Linked DNA regions of Homo sapiens: region 1 is linked to region 2. The links are contacts of gene promoters, found by promoter capture Hi-C in blood cells and fetal thymus (Javierre and others, 2016). All regions are on one chromosome and are shown on one strand. Each heading gives the region's core, a stretch centred on a gene start or on the middle of the fragment in contact. The rest is flanking DNA. Distances are from core to core; before and after follow the strand shown. Region 1 overlaps ERCC3 (ERCC excision repair 3, TFIIH core complex helicase subunit). Region 2 holds the start of GPR17 (G protein-coupled receptor 17).

What was found. Contacts are between HindIII fragments. The CHiCAGO score rates a contact against its expected background, and 5 or more counts as called.
Region 1: a fragment that was not itself captured here is called in contact with the fragment with the promoter of GPR17 in region 2 in 1 of 17 cell types (neutrophils); the score reaches 5.2 in neutrophils.

What each region holds. Positions count from the first base shown.
Region 1 is chr2:127,285,124-127,288,479 of GRCh38, reverse strand. ERCC3 (ERCC excision repair 3, TFIIH core complex helicase subunit) reads left to right here. Exons shown (of 15, transcript NM_000122.2): 8 at 1,463-1,777. Among named protein-coding and RNA genes, the nearest start is that of ERCC3, 7.3 kb to the left of the region's middle. The HindIII fragment of the contact is 1,319 bases long and covers 591-1,909 here.
Region 2 is chr2:127,644,794-127,647,930 of GRCh38, reverse strand. GPR17 (G protein-coupled receptor 17) reads right to left here and starts at 1,778. Exons shown (of 2, transcript NM_001161417.2): 1 at 1,687-1,778. The region is part of intron 4 of LIMS2 (LIM zinc finger domain containing 2); the gene reads left to right. The HindIII fragment of the contact is 22,539 bases long and covers 1-3,137 here.

The sequences.
Region 1 (3,356 bases), core at 1-2,500, 360 kb after region 2:
GGACACTGGGGGTATTATGGTGGCTAGAACAACACTTCTGACCTCATGGAGCTCACTCTTCTGGGGAAGAGACAGATGGTAAGCAGATGTGTACAACCTTGGGTGGTGCTAGAGTCAGCGAAGAAAAATTAGAGCACATGAGGGGTGAGATTGTAATGATGGCAAGGGGCTGTTGCACTTAGTGGGGTTAGGTTCTTGTTCTTGAATCAGCCTTAGGGGTTGTGTATTTGGAGACTCCCTAGCGCAGAAACTTTGGTGTTCCTGGATGACTAGGATGGTGTGCAGGTCCAGGGAAAGGCAGGAGTGGCCCCCTGGGCACCTGTTTGACCACTTATCCCAGTAGTGTCAGGTCCTAGCCTAGCTTCTTGGCCAGAGACCACAGCAGACTCACCTTGGGACCCCACTGAGGACTTACAGAGGCAAGGTCTTCAGGGAAGGGGAGGTTCTTTTTTTCCAAAACTCCAAGGGTTATTTTGATGTTGTTTTCCTTTTTTATTTCACTTTACAAATTTTTTTTATTTACGTTTATTCCTGGTAACTCACAGTGTATTTTTATAATAAAGGAAGGATCTCTGTTTAATGGAAAAGCTTGATTTTTCTCTTGATCTTCAAATGGTGGATGGTAGTAAACTCAGAAGCTCCTGGAATTTCATTTTCTCTGTACACACATAGCGCATCCCTGAATTCTCAGCCCCGTTTGCTGTGTAATAATAATAGTGGTCTTTTGCCGAGTGCCTCCTTCTGTGGGCCAGGCATGCTGGGACCCAGTAGCTTCACTGTCCCGTGGCTGTGGGCAAGGTAAAGTACTCCTCAGCTTTAGTTTTTCAATCTTTCTTTTTTCTTTTTGAGACAGAGTCTTGCTCCGTTGCCCATGCTGGAGTGTAGTGGCGCCATCTTGGCTCACCACAACCTCCGCCTACTGGGTTCAAGATATTCTCCTGCCTCAGCCTCCCAAGTGACCGGGATTATAGGCGCCCGCCACCATGCCCGGCTAATTTTTTGTATTTTTAGTAAAGATAGGGTTTCACCATGTTGGCCAGGCTGGTCTTGAACTCCTGACCTCATGTGATCTACCCACCTCGGCCTCCCAAAGTGCTGGGATTACAGGTATGAGCCACCGTGGCATGGTGGCTCAGCCAGGTTTTTCTATCTTTAAAATAACAATAACAGGCATTTCTCTTCTCACTGGTTTGTTTTGAGATTTTGACATTTAAATGAGATGTGTGTAAAGTGCTACAGTAGGCCCCAGCGCCTGCCATTTCTCACATATGTATGTGAAGTGGGCATGTCTCCTCATTATAAAGAAGAAAACAGGCTGGAGCAGTGTGTGTCGCTCAGATGTCAGCTATGTGGACTGTTACAAGACATTTTCCTAGATTGCTGTACTTGTGAGTCATTCTGCCTGTCCCTGTCCTTCATTTCAACCTGTCCTTGGGTGGGATTGCACTCTTGTTTCTTGTAGGTGCTGGAAAGTCCCTGGTTGGTGTGACTGCTGCATGCACTGTCAGAAAACGCTGTCTGGTGCTGGGCAACTCAGCTGTTTCTGTGGAGCAGTGGAAAGCCCAGTTCAAGATGTGGTCCACCATTGACGACAGCCAGATCTGCCGGTTCACCTCCGATGCCAAGGACAAGCCCATCGGCTGCTCCGTTGCCATTAGCACCTACTCCATGCTGGGCCACACCACCAAAAGGTCCTGGGAGGCCGAGCGAGTCATGGAGTGGCTCAAGACCCAGGAGTGGGGCCTCATGATCCTGGATGAAGTGCACACCATACCAGGTAAGCAGGCTGGAGCTGAGCTGTCCACTTGCTGAACAGACAAACCAATTTCCAGTTGTTAGGTTGGGAAAGGGACTGCTGTGTAGCCCACCCAACTGGCTAGAAAGACTTGCTGGCTTGCTGGGTAAAGCTTTTAATAGTTCTTTTTTTTTTTTTTGAGAGGGAGTCTCACTCTGTCACCCAAGCTGGAGTGCAGTGGCACGATCTCAGCTCACCACAACTTCCACCTCCCAGGTTCAAGCAGTTCTCTGCCTCAGCCTCTGAGTAGCTGGGATTACAGGCACCTGCCACCATGCTAGGCTAATTTTTGTATTTTTGTAGAGACAGGGTTTCCCCATCTTGGCCAGGCTGGTCTTGAACTCCTGACCTCGTGATCCACCCACCTCATCCTCCCAAAGTGCTGGGATTACAGGCGTGAGCCACCGTGCCCGGCCAGTAATTCTTAAGTGGGATGCAGGCAGGAGTGTTCACATTCACAGTTTGCTTAATCACTGGCTCAGTAGTGATTTAGAAAATGATATTTTCTTTCCTCCATCTTCCTTTTGCTGCTCAGCTTCATCCGTTTTTTAATGGCCCTCTAAAAACTGGGTTAGGAGCACTGAAAAGCCCTTCCCAAAATGGTGGTGATGTGTTTTATTTGAAGCCCGGAATATTGATCCTTAGTCAATATGTAATAGAAGCCCTACTTCTCCAAGTATCATGGGCAAACCTTTTTTTTTTAAGCTGCTCTATTGATTTAATTTATATACCATAAAATCACCCCTTGTAAATATATAATCCAATGAGTTTTAGTAAATTTGTGGACCAGTGCAACCATGACCATGATCCAAGTTTTCTTTTCTTTTTTTTTTTGAGATGGCATCTTGCTTTGTTGCCCAGGCTGGAGTGCAGTCGTGTGATCTTGGCCCACTGCAACCTCCGCCTCTAGGGTTCAACTGATTCCCCTGCCTCAGCCTCCCAAGTAGCTGGGACTACAGGTGTGTACTACCACACCCGGCTAATTTTTTTTTATTTGAGACAGTTTCGCTCTTGTTGCCCAGGCTGGAGTGCAGTGGTGCAATCTCAGCTCACTGGAAGCTCTGCCTCCCGGGTTCAAGTGATTCTCCTGCCTCAGCCTCCCGAGTAGCTAGGATTACAGGTGTGCGCCACCATGCCCAGCTAATTTTATATTTTTAGTAGAGACAGGGTTTCTCCGTGTTGGTCAGGCTGGTCTCAAACTCCTGACTTCAGGTGATCCGCCCACCTCAGCCTCACCCTGGGATTACAGGCGTAAAGTACCACACCTGGCCAAATTTTTGTATTTTTAGTAGAGAAAGGGTTTCGCCATGTTAGCCAGGCTGGTCTTGAAGTCCAGACTTTAAGTGATCTGCCTGCTTGGGCCTCCCAAAGTACTGGGATTATAGACGTGAGCCACTGCATTCGGCCACCATGATCCAGTTTTAGATTTCCTTTGTACTCATTTGCAGTCAATCTTTGTTTCTCTATCTAGCTTCAGATGACTACTGAACTGCTGTCACTATAGATTTGCTTTTTATGGAAAATTTATATAAACACAATCATACAATATATATTATGTCTG
Region 2 (3,137 bases), core at 529-3,028:
GCCCTTGACAGGGCCTGTGAGGCAGGGGAGAACAGGGAGCAGGTACCGGTGGGACGGTGGCAGGGGAGGGGGGCCCATGACTTTGAGGGTGTCGTGTTGCATGTGCTGGGGGTGAGGACCCGGAGACTGGAGGAACAGGGCTCCAGGGCAGACGCATGGGCAAGCAGAGAGGACAGCCCATGGTAGATGGGAGGGGCACACAGGTGTGCTGTTTTCAGGTTGGCAGGAGAGGAGGAAGGTGTGTGCGGGGAGGCCCTGGAGACTGGAAGAGGAGAGGGGGCCCAGTGAGTGAGGGGCCCTTGTTAGAACCTGGGGGTGGGAAGGGGCCAAGGTGGGTGCCCTCCACCCCAGGCTGTCCCTCAGGCCTGTGCTGTGCCCCACAGTGCAGGCATCACCTGGCCCCACGAGAGAGCAGCTCATAGGTACGACTGACCACTCTGCCTGGCATGGTGGGGGCCTGCCTGTGCTGGCTCAAACCAGTTTTAGCCCCATGTTGCAGGTTAGGGAGTCAAGGCTGAGTGTCTGCTAACTTGTCTTAGGTCACTTGACCAGGGGACATTGGCCCTGGAGCTGGAAGTGAGACCGGGGAAACGGTCTCACTCCCTGGAAGACCGCCAGGGTGGGGAGTGTGACTCAGTCTCAGAGTTTGCCATGGAGTTGTCTCCCAGGCTCAGCACCCCCTCCTGGCCCTGGGGCCACTCCCTCATTTTAGGGGCCCATGTATGAAATGAGAATGTGCAGCCCCTTGCTCAAAAAGGAAGAGTTTCAGGACAGTGACGGCAGAGTGTTACTGGGCTCAGGGCCCTGAGTGACGGCAGGGGTGGCATATCTCATGGCACCAGGTGGGCCTGTGGTGCCTCCTGCCTCCAGCCCGGGGGCCTCAGCCTGGGCACTGCCCTCCACTTCCTGCCCGGGCCGAAGGGCGTGCCCCTCGCTCTCTCTGGGACTGAGACTCCATTTTAAACAGCTTTCTGGTTGGTTTCAGGTTTGCTGAGGTTTCTTCTCCCTTTCTGTCCCCCGTTTGAGGAGTTCTGATACTGATTGTTGCAGTTTGGTCTGAGATGGGCCCCGCTTCACTCTCTGTTGCCCTTTAGAAACACAAACTTCAGTCTAGACTCGCTGGTTCCTCACGACTCACTGGTCAGACGGCCACCGAGCCGGTGTCCGTAAGAGGAAAGGGCGTGGCATGGGCCGGGGCCTGGGCAGTGTTGGGTCCCGTGGCTGTGGGTGAGTCGAGCATCTAGGACAGGTCATAGGCCTCTGTGGAGGTGGCAGGTGGGCATGTGTGGCCTCGGGGAGGGCCTGTGGTGGCAGCGCCATGGCCAGGTGGTGGCAGTTTCCTTTGCATTAGCGCCACTCCATCCCTGGCCCGAGCCCTCTCCCAGGCATCTGGCTCCTCTATGGGTCAAGGCTGCCTAATGGTTAGGGGCAGCGGTGCTGTCATTGCAGCCTGGACTGCCGGCAAGCCACTTCCCCTCTGCAAGCCCCCATCAGAGGGACGAAACACCGCTTTGTGGGCTGCTGTGAATTCAGACTGTGGTCAGCCTTCGATGCACAGGTCAGACCATCACCAAAGAGATGGGACGAGACAGGCTGCTGCCTGTCTCCCTGGGCAGGGCTCCCCGCTGAGTGTTTCCTCTGCTTAGCCCTGGGCTCCCAGTCCACCCCACCCAGCCTGCCCCTTACCTCTAGCTGCTGGTCCGGGAGGAAGGGACAGGGGTCTGCGGGGCAGCAGGTGATCTCCGCCCGTGGGTGTCGGTGGTGGCAGGGGGCTCCTTGCCGCTGTGGGTGGAACGCTGGCTATTTAAGGAGAGGAAGGGAGACCACAGCCCCTCTGGCCCTGAAAGGCTGCTTCATTCCTGAGGGGTCCCTTGTTGTGTCGGGCTGCTCCTCTGGCTGCTGCTGCTGCTGCCACCGGAGCGTGAATATTCTAGTGTGTCCCTAGCCCATGCCCCCCGCCCCCAGCTTGGCCACATAGTCTGAGTGTGTGACTGTCTCAGAGACTCAGAGCAGGCGGGGGCTGGGTGGGGGGCTTGGGCTGGAGCTGAGGGACACAACAGGACGTTTCAGAAGGGGATGATTTCCTACTGATGGGGGGCAGGGAGGGGCCGGCTGTCATGGCAACAGGCGGCGCTCCCAGGCCTGCGCCCGCAGACGGCGGAGGGGGCCTGTGAACGGAGGGTGGGAGGCCGAGGAGTCTTGCTCACGGAGTGAGAGGCGACTCTTTGAGGACACTTGCTGTAGGGTCCTTGTGTCCTGCCCTGTATAATGAGGCCCCATTTGGGCACACAGAATAAATCATGGCCTTTATCTGGAGCGAGGAACAGCTGCAGGAGCCTCATAATGGGGCGCTGTCCTGTCCGTGAGGATGCGGCTCAGCTCAGAGGCCGGGTGCTCGCCGGTGCAGCTCCCCTTCTGCACGGAAGCCCATGAATCTGACCGCTGGCCTGGGGCTCCTCCCTGGGGTGGCTCCGGGCTGGGGTGCCTTTGAATGCTGCCGGCGGCCGCCTCTGAGACTGAGTGAACAAAGTTCATTTCTCTCTGTCTTTCTGAAAATGATACATCCAGCAACATGGGAAACCAAATCACCCTTCCTGGTTTCAAAAGACTTTACATTTTGTTGTTTAAACATTGAAAACTGTATGTATGTGGCTAGCATTTAAGGGGCAGTGTCTTAAATTTGTCTCTTCACATCACCCTGTGCAGCTGGGATTATTGCCCCATTTTACAGACAAGGAAACTGAGGCTCAGGCAAATGAAGAAACTCACCCATCAACAAACAGTAGGAAGCAACAGAGCCAGGATTTGAACCCAAGCACATGTCACTCCAGAACTTAGGCTCCGTGTGTGTGTGTGTTTTGTTTTTCTGCTGCATTTTGAATTTAGAATTCTTAGATTTGATCCTAATTCAACCTGAAAAAGAATTCTGAAGGCCACCTTTAGATCTGATGCTGTGATCTGGTCTGTTGAGAAGCTGTTTCCCATCTGGACTTCCTTCAAGAGAGATGGGCTTCCCAGTTTGTCTGGCCTGAGAGCCAGCTGGGTGTGAGGTGTCTGAGCCGGGGCGCAGGTCTCTTTCCTGTTGTGCCCGCAGGCGGCTGTCTGGAAGAACTGGCCCAGGCTGGTTGGAAAGGTGG